5 separate regions of the Homo sapiens genome follow, and all the other regions are linked to region 1. Evidence: promoter capture Hi-C in 16 types of primary human blood cells and fetal thymus (Javierre and others, 2016). All regions are on one chromosome and are shown on one strand. Each heading gives the region's core, a stretch centred on a gene start or on the middle of the fragment in contact. The rest is flanking DNA. Distances are from core to core; before and after follow the strand shown.

What was found. Contacts are between HindIII fragments. The CHiCAGO score rates a contact against its expected background, and 5 or more counts as called.
Region 2: a fragment that was not itself captured here is called in contact with the fragment with the promoter of ZNF227 in region 1 in 1 of 17 cell types (naive CD8 T cells); the score reaches 6.9 in naive CD8 T cells.
Region 3: a contact is called between a fragment that was not itself captured here and the fragment with the promoter of ZNF227 in region 1, in 4 of 17 cell types (naive CD4 T cells, total CD4 T cells, non-activated CD4 T cells and 1 more). The highest score is 6.7, in naive CD4 T cells.
Region 4: a contact is called between a fragment that was not itself captured here and the fragment with the promoter of ZNF227 in region 1, in 1 of 17 cell types (non-activated CD4 T cells). The highest score is 6.2, in non-activated CD4 T cells.
Region 5: a contact is called between a fragment that was not itself captured here and the fragment with the promoter of ZNF227 in region 1, in 1 of 17 cell types (non-activated CD4 T cells). The highest score is 6.7, in non-activated CD4 T cells.

Annotation. Positions count from the first base shown.
Region 1 is chr19:44,211,248-44,213,947 of GRCh38, forward strand. ZNF227 (zinc finger protein 227) reads left to right here and starts at 1,285. Exons shown (of 6, transcript NM_182490.3): 1 at 1,285-1,338; 2 at 1,843-1,997. The HindIII fragment of the contact is 5,683 bases long and covers 361-2,700 here.
Region 2 is chr19:37,581,288-37,583,987 of GRCh38, forward strand. It overlaps ZNF571 (zinc finger protein 571), which reads right to left. Exons shown (of 4, transcript NM_016536.5): 3 at 2,684-2,700. The region is part of intron 5 of ZNF571-AS1 (ZNF571 antisense RNA 1); the gene reads left to right. It also overlaps a transcript of ZNF540 not described here. Among named protein-coding and RNA genes, the nearest start is that of ZNF571, 12 kb to the right of the region's middle. The HindIII fragment of the contact is 5,270 bases long and covers 1-2,700 here.
Region 3 is chr19:37,598,572-37,601,271 of GRCh38, forward strand. It overlaps ZNF540 (zinc finger protein 540), which reads left to right. Exons shown (of 5, transcript NM_001172225.3): 3 at 1,055-1,181; 4 at 2,439-2,534. Among named protein-coding and RNA genes, the nearest start is that of ZNF540, 5.0 kb to the left of the region's middle. The HindIII fragment of the contact is 966 bases long and covers 927-1,892 here.
Region 4 is chr19:37,769,724-37,772,423 of GRCh38, forward strand. ZNF573 (zinc finger protein 573) reads right to left here. Exons shown (of 5, transcript NM_001172690.2): 3 at 1,841-1,973; 4 at 282-374. Among named protein-coding and RNA genes, the nearest start is that of ZNF573, 8.5 kb to the right of the region's middle. The HindIII fragment of the contact is 2,620 bases long and covers 112-2,700 here.
Region 5 is chr19:37,500,271-37,502,970 of GRCh38, forward strand. The region is part of intron 2 of ZNF793-AS1 (ZNF793 antisense RNA 1); the gene reads right to left. Among named protein-coding and RNA genes, the nearest start is that of ZNF793, 5.3 kb to the right of the region's middle. The HindIII fragment of the contact is 7,082 bases long and covers 1-2,700 here.

The sequences.
Region 1 (2,700 bases), core at 35-2,534:
AAGAAAAAAGTTGTGAAAATGTAGTGAGGGTCCCATAGTCTGAATAGTTTGAACTAGTTCCTGGCACATACTTGGTTCTTTATAAGAGATAGTTGTATATAACAGAATAAAGAATATATATTTAGTAAATGAGAACTGCAAACATGTACTGTAGTAGATATGTGGATATTTTTAGGTATTGCTCTCTTCTTTCAACCCTCAATTCTTGGAAACATCAATTCCATTATACATTTAAGCAAATAAAGATCAAGGTTTAAACACTGAAGTAATAAATTTGTTCATCTTTCAAATTCAGAAACTCCTTGAGGAATGATTACAGAGGCCCTAGTTGCTTTGTGGAGTTGATCTACCATATGCCAAAGCTTGTGTTTTCTATGTCTAGCTATCCTCAGTAAGCAAGTTGTTCTGAATTATATGACTGTGCTATTAAGAAAAGTGGAAATCCATAATATATTCTGCCTTCGTTGCATTTTTTGATTGCTCTTTCATTCTTTTAGTATCTAAAGAGTAGTTTTTCTATTAGTCGATCCTGTTAAATGTAAAAACTTAAAGGGTTTCCTCTGCCCTTTTTTTTTTTTTTTTTGGAAGTGGTGGGTATAATTCTATTAGTACAGGATCACGTGATCTGTTTCTTATAATAGTTTTTTTTTTCTTTTTTTTTTTTTTGAGACAGAGTCTCACTCTGTCGCCCAGGCTGGAGTGCAGTGGCACGATCTTGGCTCACTGCACCCTCCAGGGTTCAAGCGATTCTTATGCCTCAGCCTCCCAAGTAGCTGGGACTACAGGCGCGCGCCACCACGCCCGGCTAATTTTTATATTTTTAGTAGAGACGGGGCTTCATCATATTGGCCAAGCTGGTCTGGAACTCCTGACCTCGTGATCCGCCCGCCTCGGCCTCCCAAAGTGCTGGGAGTCTTTTTTTATTTTAGGGCTCCAATTCTTCACATATTTGCTGTTACTTTTTGTTAATAAGAAAAACCTAAATTCCACTGACATCAGAGAACTGCTTCAGCCTGGCTAAACAGCAATAAGCCGTGAAGAGGATTCTGGATGTTGTAGTCCGGGAGCTCCGAGAATTTTGTCACACTCTCCGTAACCCTCTCTCACTCGCTCGCTCCGTTTTTTTTTTTGTTTTTTTTTTTTTCAAGCGCGAAGAGGGCGGCACCTGGATGGTTTTTCCTTCTGGAAGTTCTGGGAAACGTATTCCAGAACTCTGTCCGGAAACAATTGGGCCGCAGGAGCGCGGGCCTTCTGGGAAGGGTAGTTCAGGAGCTCTGGGCAGGCAGAGCCACTTCCGCCCCGGAAAGCGAGGCCGCCACCATCTTTTGGGTCCGGGAGGTGAGTCAGCCCTGCACCCCCACGACCCCTCTTGAACCTTTTCAGCCTGTGCTTGGGAATAGGCGCTCCCCAGCCATCAGTCTTGGGATGGAGAGGTCGCGGCCGCGGCGGAGGCCGAGAGGCCGAGGGCGGGAAGTTTGCTCTCCTCCCGCACTTGGCAAGCAGCGCCGCTAGTTCTGTGGGTATAATAAACAGCGAGTTACCTATGATCCGCGCTCCTGTTTCCTCATCTTTAAAATAGCAATAAAGATAGTCGTTACTGTGTAGGGTTGTAATTAGAATTAAACAAGATAATACGGGTCAAACCTTAGAACAGTGGTGGCACCTGATACTGGGTTGGCTCCTGCTATTGATACAGTGATTCCCTCACAAGCGCCCTTTTTACTGGAAGCTCCAGTGAAGAGAGAAGAAAAGTCAGGGCTTTATGCCATGGCCTTTCTGTCGTATCCTTCAGGAGACCGAGCTCTTCCCGAACTTTTACAGATCTTTTTTTTTTTTAAGAAGGATTGAGTCATCGGGCTCCAATGCGTGGGGATGTTTACCGCCGTTTATCCGGGATAGAGACTCCATCGTGCTGACAGCATCCTTTTATTCACCGCCTCCGAATTTGCAAAGAGGAGGAAGGAGGGACTTCTTGGCTTCTCCCAGCATAGCCCCAGGTACCTGCTCTTGAACGCACTTTGTTGTTCCATTTTCTGTCCTTTCAGTTAATCAAGTTTCCGTCACTCAGTAAGTTACTACTGAAAAATGATGAAATATTTGTTGAATAAATGTGAGAGTGGGTAGGAAAACTACTTGGAAATGAGTATTACCAATAACATCTTACCACTTTGATTTTAAGGCATTCGTCTGTGGACCATAGCTATTGATGAAGTAGGTCTTGTTATTTTGTTATGAGGAAATTAGGCAGAGTTTATGTTATTAAATACTTTCCCGAAGTTATTCAACTGATAGTAAGAGGTGGATTTGGGATTGAACCCAAGCATTCCTTTTCAGACTGTGTGATCTTTTTTGTTTGTTTTTGTTTCTTTGGTTTTTGTTGTTGTTTATTTTCTATTCCTTTTTCTGAGTCTGTGGTCTTAATCTCAATGATACAGTCGTCTTCAGTTATCTTAAATAGTAATCCATATGGCTACCGGTGAGTCGTTGGAAATCAGCCTTGGGAATGTAGGTATGGATTTTACTGTGGAAGACCTCAAAAACTGCACTGATGAATTTTGAATTTTTTAGAAAAATCCTGCAACATCTCACTTACTTAATTTCATTCCATGTCAAAATATGTCATATTCTAGTTATAGAAGTAATGAATGCTCATTATAGAGATGCACTATCCAATCCAGTAGCTATAAGCCATGTGTGCCC
Region 2 (2,700 bases), core at 125-2,624, 6.6 Mb before region 1:
ACAACTTGTACTAACATAATAATACATAATGTCAAAGGATGTTATTACCAATAACAGCAACACGTCTTAAAGCACACTTTCAAGCAACCGTCCTTTTTGACCACCACCACTGAAGTTACCAGATCATTTACCTTTATACCACCCCTCCAGCATTTTATCTCCATTTCTTTCTTTCTTTCTTTTTTTTTTTTTTTTGGAGACATGGTCTTGCTCTGTCGCCCAGGCTGAAATGCAGTGGCGTGATCATGGTTCACTGCAACCTCGACCTCGGGGCTCAAATGATCCTCCCAACTCAGTCTCCCAAGTAGCTAGGACCACAGGCATGTGACATAATGCCCTGCTAATTTTTATTTTAAGTAGAGATGGGGTTTTGCTATGTTGCCCAGGCTGGTCCTGAATTCCTGGGCTCAAGCAATTCACCCACCTCAGCCTCCCAAAGTACTGGGATTACAGGCTTGAGCCATTGTGCCCAGCCTACCACCATTTTAAAGATTCTCCTGTGAAAAAAAAACAAAAAACAAAAACCTCTCCTGATTCTGTGGTTCACCCTGCAGTGGACAGGAGCTGCAGGGTGAACCAGGAGAATGGCAAAACTTCTCAAGAGGTATGCATGCTTCCTGTCTATACCTTTTGCTTTTCTTTCTCTCCTACCACCATAATTAACATTTTGCCATATTTCCTTCCTAAATTTGTTCCATGGATTTTTATGTAGTTGAAATAATACTGCATATATAAACTCTAATCACACTTCTTTCCCCTAATTATTACAGTGTTCTTAAAACCTTCTAAAATATTGTAAACTCTATTTGTAACTTTGAGGGTTCCTCAAATGGGCCTTCAACAGTGCCTGGTGAGTTAATTCACTGTCCCACTCTAGTTTTTATTGTTGACTTACTTCTTTCTCACTCTCTTTTAAATACTCCACAATGAGGTTTTTGTTCCTCTCATTGCCAAACCCACCTTGTCAGGGTCACCAACACCCTTCATCCTGCCAAATCCAATAGCCAATTTTCAGCGTTCCTCTTACTTGAACTCCTAGCATTATCTCTCTCAGCTAACTGCTTCCTCCTTTTGTCAGTTGGCTTCCAATACACTGCATTCCCTCTTCCTAGGTCACAGGTTACTCAGGTTAGTCCTCAATTTCCTTTGCTAGATTGTTTTCCTGACTGAATGTTGGAACACCCCATGGTTCAGTCCTTGAGCTGTACCTTGCCTTCCGTCTAAACCAATTCGCTCCATAATCTCATTCAGTTCCTCGGTACAGAGAGTAATCCCATATTTATCTCTTCAGTCCTGACTATCCCCTCCACCCACAGGCTTCCAAATGCTTATCTAACTTCACCACACAGATATCTAATGAGCATATCAAATACGTAACTCTTGACTTCCTTCTCCAGCCTTCCAAACCCTGATGCCTCTATTGCCAATCTTCAAAATAACTCCATTATGAAGGTATTAATTCTACCTTCAAAATATAGCCTGTTCTCATCACCTCCACATATTAAACCCAATTCCAAGCCACTGTTATCTCTAGTGTGAACTTCTGAACTAGTCCTCTCATTAGTCTTCCTGCTTTCATTTTTATCCTCACTGTTCACATAGCACTCAGTGACCTCTAAACAAAGATCCTTTACTTGTCTGCAAAAAGTCAGCCAGGGGCTCCCTATCACACTTAGAATAAAATCTCACTGCTTGCAACAACCAACAAGGTCCTACATGATTTGACCTCTGCCTATTTCTCTAACCTCACCTCAAATTTCCACTTTCAGTAGCCACACTGGCCTTCTTGCTGATTCTCAAACAAGTGAAGCTCAGTTTCTCTCAGGATCTTCTCTTCCCTCTGCCTGAACACACCTTTCCCTGATTTACAGCCAACTTTATTCAGGTCTTAATTCAAATGTTACCTCCCCTGAGCTATCATTCCTGGTCCTCCTAACCTATGAACGTAGCAAGCTCTCAGTACGTATGTGCTGGCTAGAGATACTTATCCAAGTTTAACTATAAAAGAGCAACCAGGAAAAACGTAATTCAAAAAATAGATAAAAGCATTGTCCCCAAAAGAGATCAGACCAAAGGTAGCTCCCTTATTAAAACAAAAAGGGAATGTAAAACAGAAGAGTGGCAAATGGGAGTTGGGAGGGAGGTTCCACGGGGAACTCACACACATAACCTTCCTGCTCTCCCTATGTCTCAAGCCTTCTTTCCACAGGCCTTTGAAGAGAGCTTCAGGCACACACCTCAAAGTGCTGCCACCTACGGATCAGCTGTATTATTAGCAATAGCTGACACTGTGACCAGCCTTTATTCACCTGAGCTCTGTCTTTATGTCATGGTTCTCATCAGCATCCAGGGCTCCTTTCCTTGCTCCAGTAAGGAAAGTATATTTGGCTTAGGGACTGCACATACAGCTTAAAAGAAAGGAAATGGTGCATGGTCATGCTAGGGGATTCCCAGATTCAAATCTAGTCCATTGGCATCAAAGAAGGGAGACACTGACAGGAAGTGACAGAGAAAGATGTGACAGTCTAAAGGATAAGAGATAAAAAGGTACACGGTGGAGCTGTCCATTTCTACTTCTACTCAAACGTAAGCCTTTCCTTAGGGAATGGAGATCAGAAATTCACAATGAATGAGGCAGAAATTATGGGGAACAAATTCTGAATATTACGTAGGATGATCTTACCCAATGAGATCAGGTTG
Region 3 (2,700 bases), core at 160-2,659, 6.6 Mb before region 1:
AAGCTCCTCCCATGGGCCCCCTCTCTTTTCTAACCAGTATCCACATGCACATTGACCAACTCATTCAGGGTACTCAGTCTCTGTCTAGGGCAGAGATGGAACAGACATGAAGTTCCTAGAGGGGGAGGTACTTTACCATCCTTTGTCAGATCTGAGGTGTAATGAAACCAAGAATGGAATCATTTGACTACACGTAGGAAAGCACTGCAGTTTTCCACAGATCCTGTGTCTGTAGATAAATGCAGTTTAATATTGATTGGCCTCAGTTTCAGTATGTGGTTGGGGCCTGCTTATAGAGAGGCCAGGGGATCTTTCCTGAGAATCTCTGAGGTGAAAACCCATAGTAAGACGCATTTTGTGGTTAAACGGAATGTGCTAGTCTTGACATCAGTATGATTCTGGTTCATTACATCAATATTCTTAATCTCAAGAAAAAAGAAGGTGTGTAGTACTTATAAGAAAATCATCCAGATACATAAATATTAGTTAATTGTATTCTCCCAGATTTGCAGTGAGGTACTATGGCCTCGAACTTCTGAGTTCACCACTGTACTCCAGCGTGGGCAACAGAGTGAGATCTCCGTCTCGATTGATCAATCGATTGATCGATAGATAGATAGATAGATAGATAAACTTAAAGGAAAAAGAGGATATAGGATTCTTTTTTATGTATTAAGTGGTTTTTCTTAAAGTATTTATTATTAAGTAATAATTTATTGAGAATTTTTGAGGTAGAAATATAGTTTATTTGCTTGTATCCACTGTTTAATTGAATTGGGAAACATTTATTTGTTCCCAGAAATGTTTTGAGTAGTTAAAGAACCCCATAATATACAGGAAATTTTGCATATAGTGGCTGGATTCTTCAAGAAAATGAGGTGACTCTGCTTTAGAACACCTGGTTCCTTTCTTCTATCTTTATCATAAGCTTTCAGCCCCAGCCTAGAGTTTAGTATAGTACCCCTTGCTGCAATGAAACCTTTTATCTCCTTTTCTTCTTTTTAAAATACTTGTTCTGTAATTTCACCAGTAATATGTTGGTTTATGGTTTCAGGCATTGGTGACGTTCAGGGATGTGGCTATAGACTTCTCTCAGAAGGAATGGGAGTGCCTGGACACTACCCAGAGGAAATTGTACAGAGATGTGATGTTGGAGAATTATAATAACTTGGTCTCACTGGGTAAGGTCACCTATGTCAAATAATGTAGACTCTGTTATCTGAAATAGTAGCTTTCTCTTCCACAAATTTAGGACTAATTATTAAGAAACTAGCTGAATTTCTTCTCTCTTCCTCAAGGAATGGACTGAACTTTGATGGTTTGTGAATGGCACTTCCACTAAATGCTTTCATTTTCACCATACCTCACTGAGCCTCATGAAATGTTCCTTAATCCATTACTGTAGTTACTTCTTCCTTAATAGTTAAGAGACTGGATTTGAATTTTGGGGCATTTACTCCAAAGCCAATGTCAATGAAATCAGGTTTCACATTGCATTTGAGCTCAGAATTGCTATGGATGCTCTGTTATTTGGTAACATGCCTATAAGGATAACAGCCCTACCCAGGGTCTACAATTTACATGTCATGGTTCAGACCAATAACATTGATTTAAAATTAAAGTGAATGCATTCTACTTCCTAAAACAAATATTTTCTCTTACTGATTTGTGATTGAAAATTTTACCTATTGGACATTATGCTCAGTACCTGGGTGGTGGGATCAAATGTACCTCAAACCTCAGCATCACACAATATCCCCAGGTAACAAACCTGCACGTATGGCCCTGTATCTAAAATAAAAGTTGAAATTAGTTAAAGTAAAATAAAATTTATTAACTTAGCATCTAACTTTAAATGAATATCTTAGCAAGAACCTAGAAATATTTTAGGAAGCTTCTTGTTTTGCTCTAAGTAAATTAACAACAACAAAAATAATAATAGCTAATAGAGTGCTTACTATATACCAGGCATCATTCTAAGTACTAGCTACAAGATACAAAAGAAAAAAAGAAAATAAAAGGTACTACTTTTATTTTCATTTTACAGATGAAAAAACTGAGGCCCAAATAATTTAACCAGTTTGTTTACAATCATTAGTCAATAGGTAGTAGAGTAGAATTTGGACCCACATAGTCTGGCTTCAGAGGCTATGCCCTCAATAACTACTGCCTCTCAATAGAGCCAGTCTGTATGAGTTTTAATTCCAAAATGAATTAAAATTCTCCTAGATGAATTTTAATTCCCCTGCCCATCAAGTTTCTTTATTCTCTGGGATCCTGAGGTTACACTAAGTTGAATATTCTTTAATCCTGTCAGTTTTTTCCGAAGTCTTCATCGAAATCATGTTGATCCATATAAATTTAACCAAGTCTCAAAATGTTTCTGAATGTGCAATGTTTTATTTCTATATATTCTTTTATTTCTTTCTTGTAAGCAGGATATTCTGGCTCAAAGCCAGATGTGATTACCTTACTGGAGCAAGGGAAAGAGCCCTGCGTGGTGGCGAGGGATGTGACAGGAAGACAGTGCCCCGGTGAGTTGAGAGTTCATCAGGCAGATGGAAGCCCTCATTGCCAGTCACGGCCAGCTGGTGAGGGAGCATATACAGGCTTTGCATGCTGTTTAGGGAGTTACTCTCAGAGGCCTCAGGCCTTTGGAGTAAAGGTTAAGACAGGGAAGAAAACAGATCATCTGAGCAT
Region 4 (2,700 bases), core at 172-2,671, 6.4 Mb before region 1:
TCGGAAAAAAAAAAAAAAAAAAAAAAAGAAAAGAAAAAAGAAAGCCCCATCACTGAAAACAGGTTTGAAATATAAAAGAAATAAGGTGATTGGTAAATGGGGTAAAGTTGAAGCTTCTTCCATAGCTTATGCTACGATCTTTATTCCCAACCAGGTTGTAGGCCTTTGCTCCACAAGTCTGGGTGCCTTGGAGGAAGGTTTCACAAACAACACAAAAATGTCTCCTTTCTCTTACCACATGGGCTGTGGCCGGCCCTGATGGTGTCCCCTGCCTTCCTTACCTGTGAACTGTGTTTCTTCCCTCAAAATCATCCAGGGCTCTTTTCCTCGCTCCAGTAAATCAACCACAACTGGTTTAGAAATGGAATGTCCTCCTTATAAGAAAAGAAATGCCACATGGTATAAAAATAAAAACAAAAGTAACAGAAACCTTTGAGCTTTGATTAAATTTACAATGAACTAAGGACTTCAAATAAAAGAGGGGTGAGATGATTGAAGAAATGAAACAGGCACAGTAAAACCTTATTTTAATGTAAACTCATACACGCGTGGTCTCTTAGGAGAAAGTTTAACCTGTGACCTTATAAAATGTCTCTTTCCAAATATTACCACCCCAAAGTAGCTGTGAAGTTCTCTGGAGCCAGAAGGCTGGGGCACAAATTATTCCTCTTAAATCTACCAACCTTGTGACTTTGGCCATGTGACTTCAACTCATTATTCCAATTTGGCAAATAAACTGGACATAATAATACTACTATTGGCTAGGCATGGTGGCTCACGCCTATAATCCCAGCATTTTGGAAGGCCGAGGTGGGAGGATCACTTGAGACCAGGAGTTTGAGACCAACCCGGGCAACAGAGCGAGACCTCATCTCTACAAAAAAAAAAAAAAAAAAAAAAAATTAGGCATGGTGGTGCATCTACAGTCCCAACTACTAAGGAGGCTGAGGCAGGAGGATCACTTGAGCCCAGGAGGTTGAGGCTACAGTGAGCTATGATTGCACTCCAGCCTAAGCAACAGAGCAAGATCCAGTCTCGAAAAAAATAAATAAATAAATAAGATAATAACAATAACACTATCACACAGTTCTTTCAGGATTAAGTTATTTTATATATATATATATATATATATATATATATATATATATATTCCCCCTCCCTTCCAAAGAGTGGCTGGGGACATAATGAGCACAACTGTACCAATTATAATTATTTTATTATTTCTGTATGAGAGAAAAAAAGCATCCCGACTGATATATAAAATCTTCATTCAAACTCAATGCAAAGCTCATGAATTATAACTTTCAACAATAAATCATACAAATTGGCTACAGGAAATGAAATGTGGACTCTTCAGTTTCCAATAAATATTGTTCATCTAATCCAGCACTATATGTCACAGGGGTTCTTCTTATACTCAGAGTAAATCATGAATCTGCGTCTTTTGTCCCTGCAGGTGGATCAGATGATGACACAGCATATCTATAGGAATTCTGGAAATATGCACAATGGGAAACCAGGATTCCTGGGCAATGGTTATTCATGGACTAATAATATATAATTTAATAATAATAATATATAATTTTAACCCAGCCCCTTGGATATTAAGGAAAGGAGGCAATCATAAGGGGCAGGAGAATATGTGACTATCTCTAAAGGATGAAGAAAATGATGGTGCTTAGTGGCACAGCCATTGTCAAACAGGCAGAGCTGAAATATTCCTCTAAGAACAGGAAGGAGAAATTCAACTATGTCTTGAAATATGGCCTTGAAATTCATTGTGTTGAAAGGTAACATATCACAGATCACATTTTAAATTACTTGAGGCAAATAAACTTACCCAGTGATACCAGGTTTCTATAGTTCTCCAACATCACATCCCTGTATAAGTCCCTCTGATTAGGGTCCAGGTATTCCCACTCCTGCCGAGAGAAGTCTATGGCCACATCCCTGAATGTCACTAATTCCTGAAACTGCAAACCCATGCATTACAAAATTTTAAAAACATTTTAAAGAAGGAAAGATAGGAGATTACAAGAGCACATTAGAGAAAAGGAGTGATATAGTATATGTGGCTAATGACTGGTAGCAGACTAAAGCAACGTGTCTACATATTCCTAAAGGATCCTATTGCCACAGGATCCTATTCCTAAAGGATCCTATTCCTAAAGGATCCTATTGCCACAGACAAATGTTTCTGCATGTTGAAGGTTACCACAATAATTCAGACCTGCTGAGGAATGGATAAAATAAAATTCAATAAAGTATTAAAGACACAACTACATAGTCTGCTAGTCATGTGATGCATAAATTCCCAATAAACATGAGTTTCTAAACTATTTTTCCTGTAAGTTAGAAAAATGAGATGTCCTTGCCAAATTTAATAATCTCCAATATTTAATTGTTTTGTGCTATTTATTTATTTTTTTGGGGACGGGGTCTCACTCCTGCCCAGGCTGGAGTGCAGTGACTCAAACATGGCTCATTGTATCCTTGACCTCCCAGGCCCAGGTGATTTTCCCATCTCAGCCTTTCAAGTAGTTGGTACTACAGGTGTGCAGGACCTGCCCAGCTAATTTTTGTATTTTTTGTAGAGACAGGGTTTCACCATGTTGCCCAGGCTGGTTTCAAACTCCTGGGCTCAAGCAATCCGCCTGCCTCAGCCTCCCAAAGTGCTGGGATTACAGGCGTGAGCCACTG
Region 5 (2,700 bases), core at 193-2,692, 6.7 Mb before region 1:
GAAATAAGGAAAAAATATTATTTTGTTATCCCATATATCTTTGCAAAGTCATACTACAGCACAGTCTAACAAACTGTTCTAGGGACTGGTTTTCCAACACTCAGCACCGTTTACATTTTGGGCCAGATAATCCTTTGTTACAGAGGACTGTTCTCTACAACACAGAGTGGCTGGAAGCATTCTTGGCCTCTTCCCACTAGATGCCAGTAGTATCCTACCCCCATCATTGTGAGAACCAAAATTGTCTTCAGGCATTGCCAAATGTCCCCTGGGGCTTAAAACTGCCCCAGGTTGAGAATTCATTGCTCTGGTGTAATGAACCTTTATTTGATTGACTGTTATTTATTAGGATGTAGGTGGTGTAAAAATAGATGTTAACTTGCAGACAACTGATGCATTTTTCATTTTTCTTTTTTTTTTTTTTTTTTGAGATGTCTCACCCTGTTGCCCAGGCTGGAGTGCAGTGGCGTGATCTGGACTCACTGCAAGCTCCACCTCCTGGGTTCACGCCATTCTCCTGCCTCAGCCTCCCAAGTAGCTGGGACTACAGGCACCCACCACCATGCCTGGCTAATTTTTTGTATTTTTAGTAGAGACGGGGTTTCATCATGTTAGCCAGGATGGTCTCGATCTCCTGACCTCGTGATCTGCCCGCCTCGGCCTCCCAAAGTGCTGGGATTACAGGCGTGAGCCACCGCGCCCAGCAGACAATTGATGCATTTTCATATATTCATCTGGTATAGCTACAAATTGATTCTGTGTGGAAGAAATAACCTTAAAGGTATGGTTTTATTGCCCTGTAGGGATATTAAATAGTTTTATATCTAACTTTGCAATCTTATTCGAAGATTCTATTGTTTTTCACTGAAGATAGGTATATACCTGTTCACTTGGAAATCAATTTCCAATGCCCTTGCTAATAAGTGAAATGAATCTTTGAATATCTGTAAAAGAGTTAAAAATTATAAGTTTTTGAAAATTATACTTTGATACTTGTTTCACCCATTGCCCCGGTGCTCTTCCTGCCTCCACATACTCTGAGGACAGGATGGGCTGTGGCCTCTCCTCATCCCAGGCTACTTCCACGGTCAACCTTGATCCAGGAGATGGTCACATCCCACCCAGATCCAGAGCACCCTACACTCATGCCAAGATACAGCCCTATTGACACTCAGGCCACAGCCTGGGAAAGATGGCAAGACCCCATCTCTACAAAAAAATAAAAATAAAAATAAATTAGCTGGGCATGGTGGTGTGTACCAGTAGTCCCAGCTACTTGGGAGGCTGAGGCAGGGGGATCACTTGAGGCCAGGAGTTCAAGGCTGCAGTGAGCCATGATTGTGCCACTGCACTCTAGCCTGGGCAACAGAGTAAGATCCTGTCTCTAAAAAAAAAAAAAAAAAAAAAACCAAAAAGCCAAACTAAACCAGACAAAACACCAAAAAATAAAAATAAAAAAAAAACAGCAACAAACTGAAGGGGGCCTGCCCCTCCACACCTGTGGGTATTTCTTGCAAGGTGGAGACGAGAGACTGAGAAAAGAAATAAGACACAAAGTATAGAGGAAGAAAAGTGGGCCCAGGGGACCAGCGCTCAGCATACAGAGGACCCGCGCTGGCCCCAGTCTCTGAATTCCCTCAGTATTTATTGATCACTATGTTGACCATCTCGGAGAGGGGCATGTGGCAGGACTATAGGGTAATGGTGGGGAGAGGGTCAGCAGGAAAACGTGAGCAAAGGACTCTGTGTCATAAATAAGTTTAAGGAAAGGTGCTGTGCCTTGATGTGCACGTAGGCCAGATTTATGTTTAACTTTACACGAACATCTCAGTGCAGTAAAGAGTATTGCCACCAGCATGTCTCAGCAACCACAAGGCGGTTTTCTCCTATCTCGGTAAATAGAATGTATGATCAGGTTTTATGAGACATTCCATTCCCAGGGACGAGCAGGAGACAGATGCCTTCCTCTTATCTCAACTGCAAAGAGGGCTTCCTCTTTCACTAATCCTCCTCAGCACAGACCCTTTACGGGTGTCGGGCTGGGGGATGGTCAGGTCTTTCCCTTCCCAGGAGGCCATATCTCAGGCTATCACATGGGAAGAAATCTTGGACAATACCCAGGCTTTCTTGGGCAGAGGTCCCTGTGGCCTTCCTCAGTGTATTGTGTCCCTGGGTACTCGAGACTGGAGATTGGTGATGACTTTTACCAAGCATACTGCCTGCAAACACATTTTTCACAAAGCACATCCTGCACAGCCCTAAATCCATTAAACCTTGAGTCAATACAGCACCTGTTTCTGCAAGCACAGGGTTGGGGCTAGGGTTACAGATTAACAGCATCTCAAGGCAGAAGAATTTCTCTTAGTACAGATCAAAATGAAGTTTCTTATGTCTTCCTTTCTCTACATAAACACAATAACAGTCTGATCTATTTTTCTTTCCCCCACAACAAACAACACTCAGGCCCAGGTAAGGTCCTTTCTGCTCCAGAGCAAGGAAGCGCTGTGCCTCCTTTTAGGCCAAATTTGGGGCCCTGTACCCTTTTAAATGATGACAGTGTCTAGGGCCACCACATTTAGTTCAAGGCTTGGACCTATAGGCATAAGCTCACTGGAACAGGTGAGAGCTGATGGTCACTGCAGGTTGGGTTAGCCCAGAGCCTTGGAGCTAGTCTGCCTAGAGGCTCCTTTCTCGAATTCC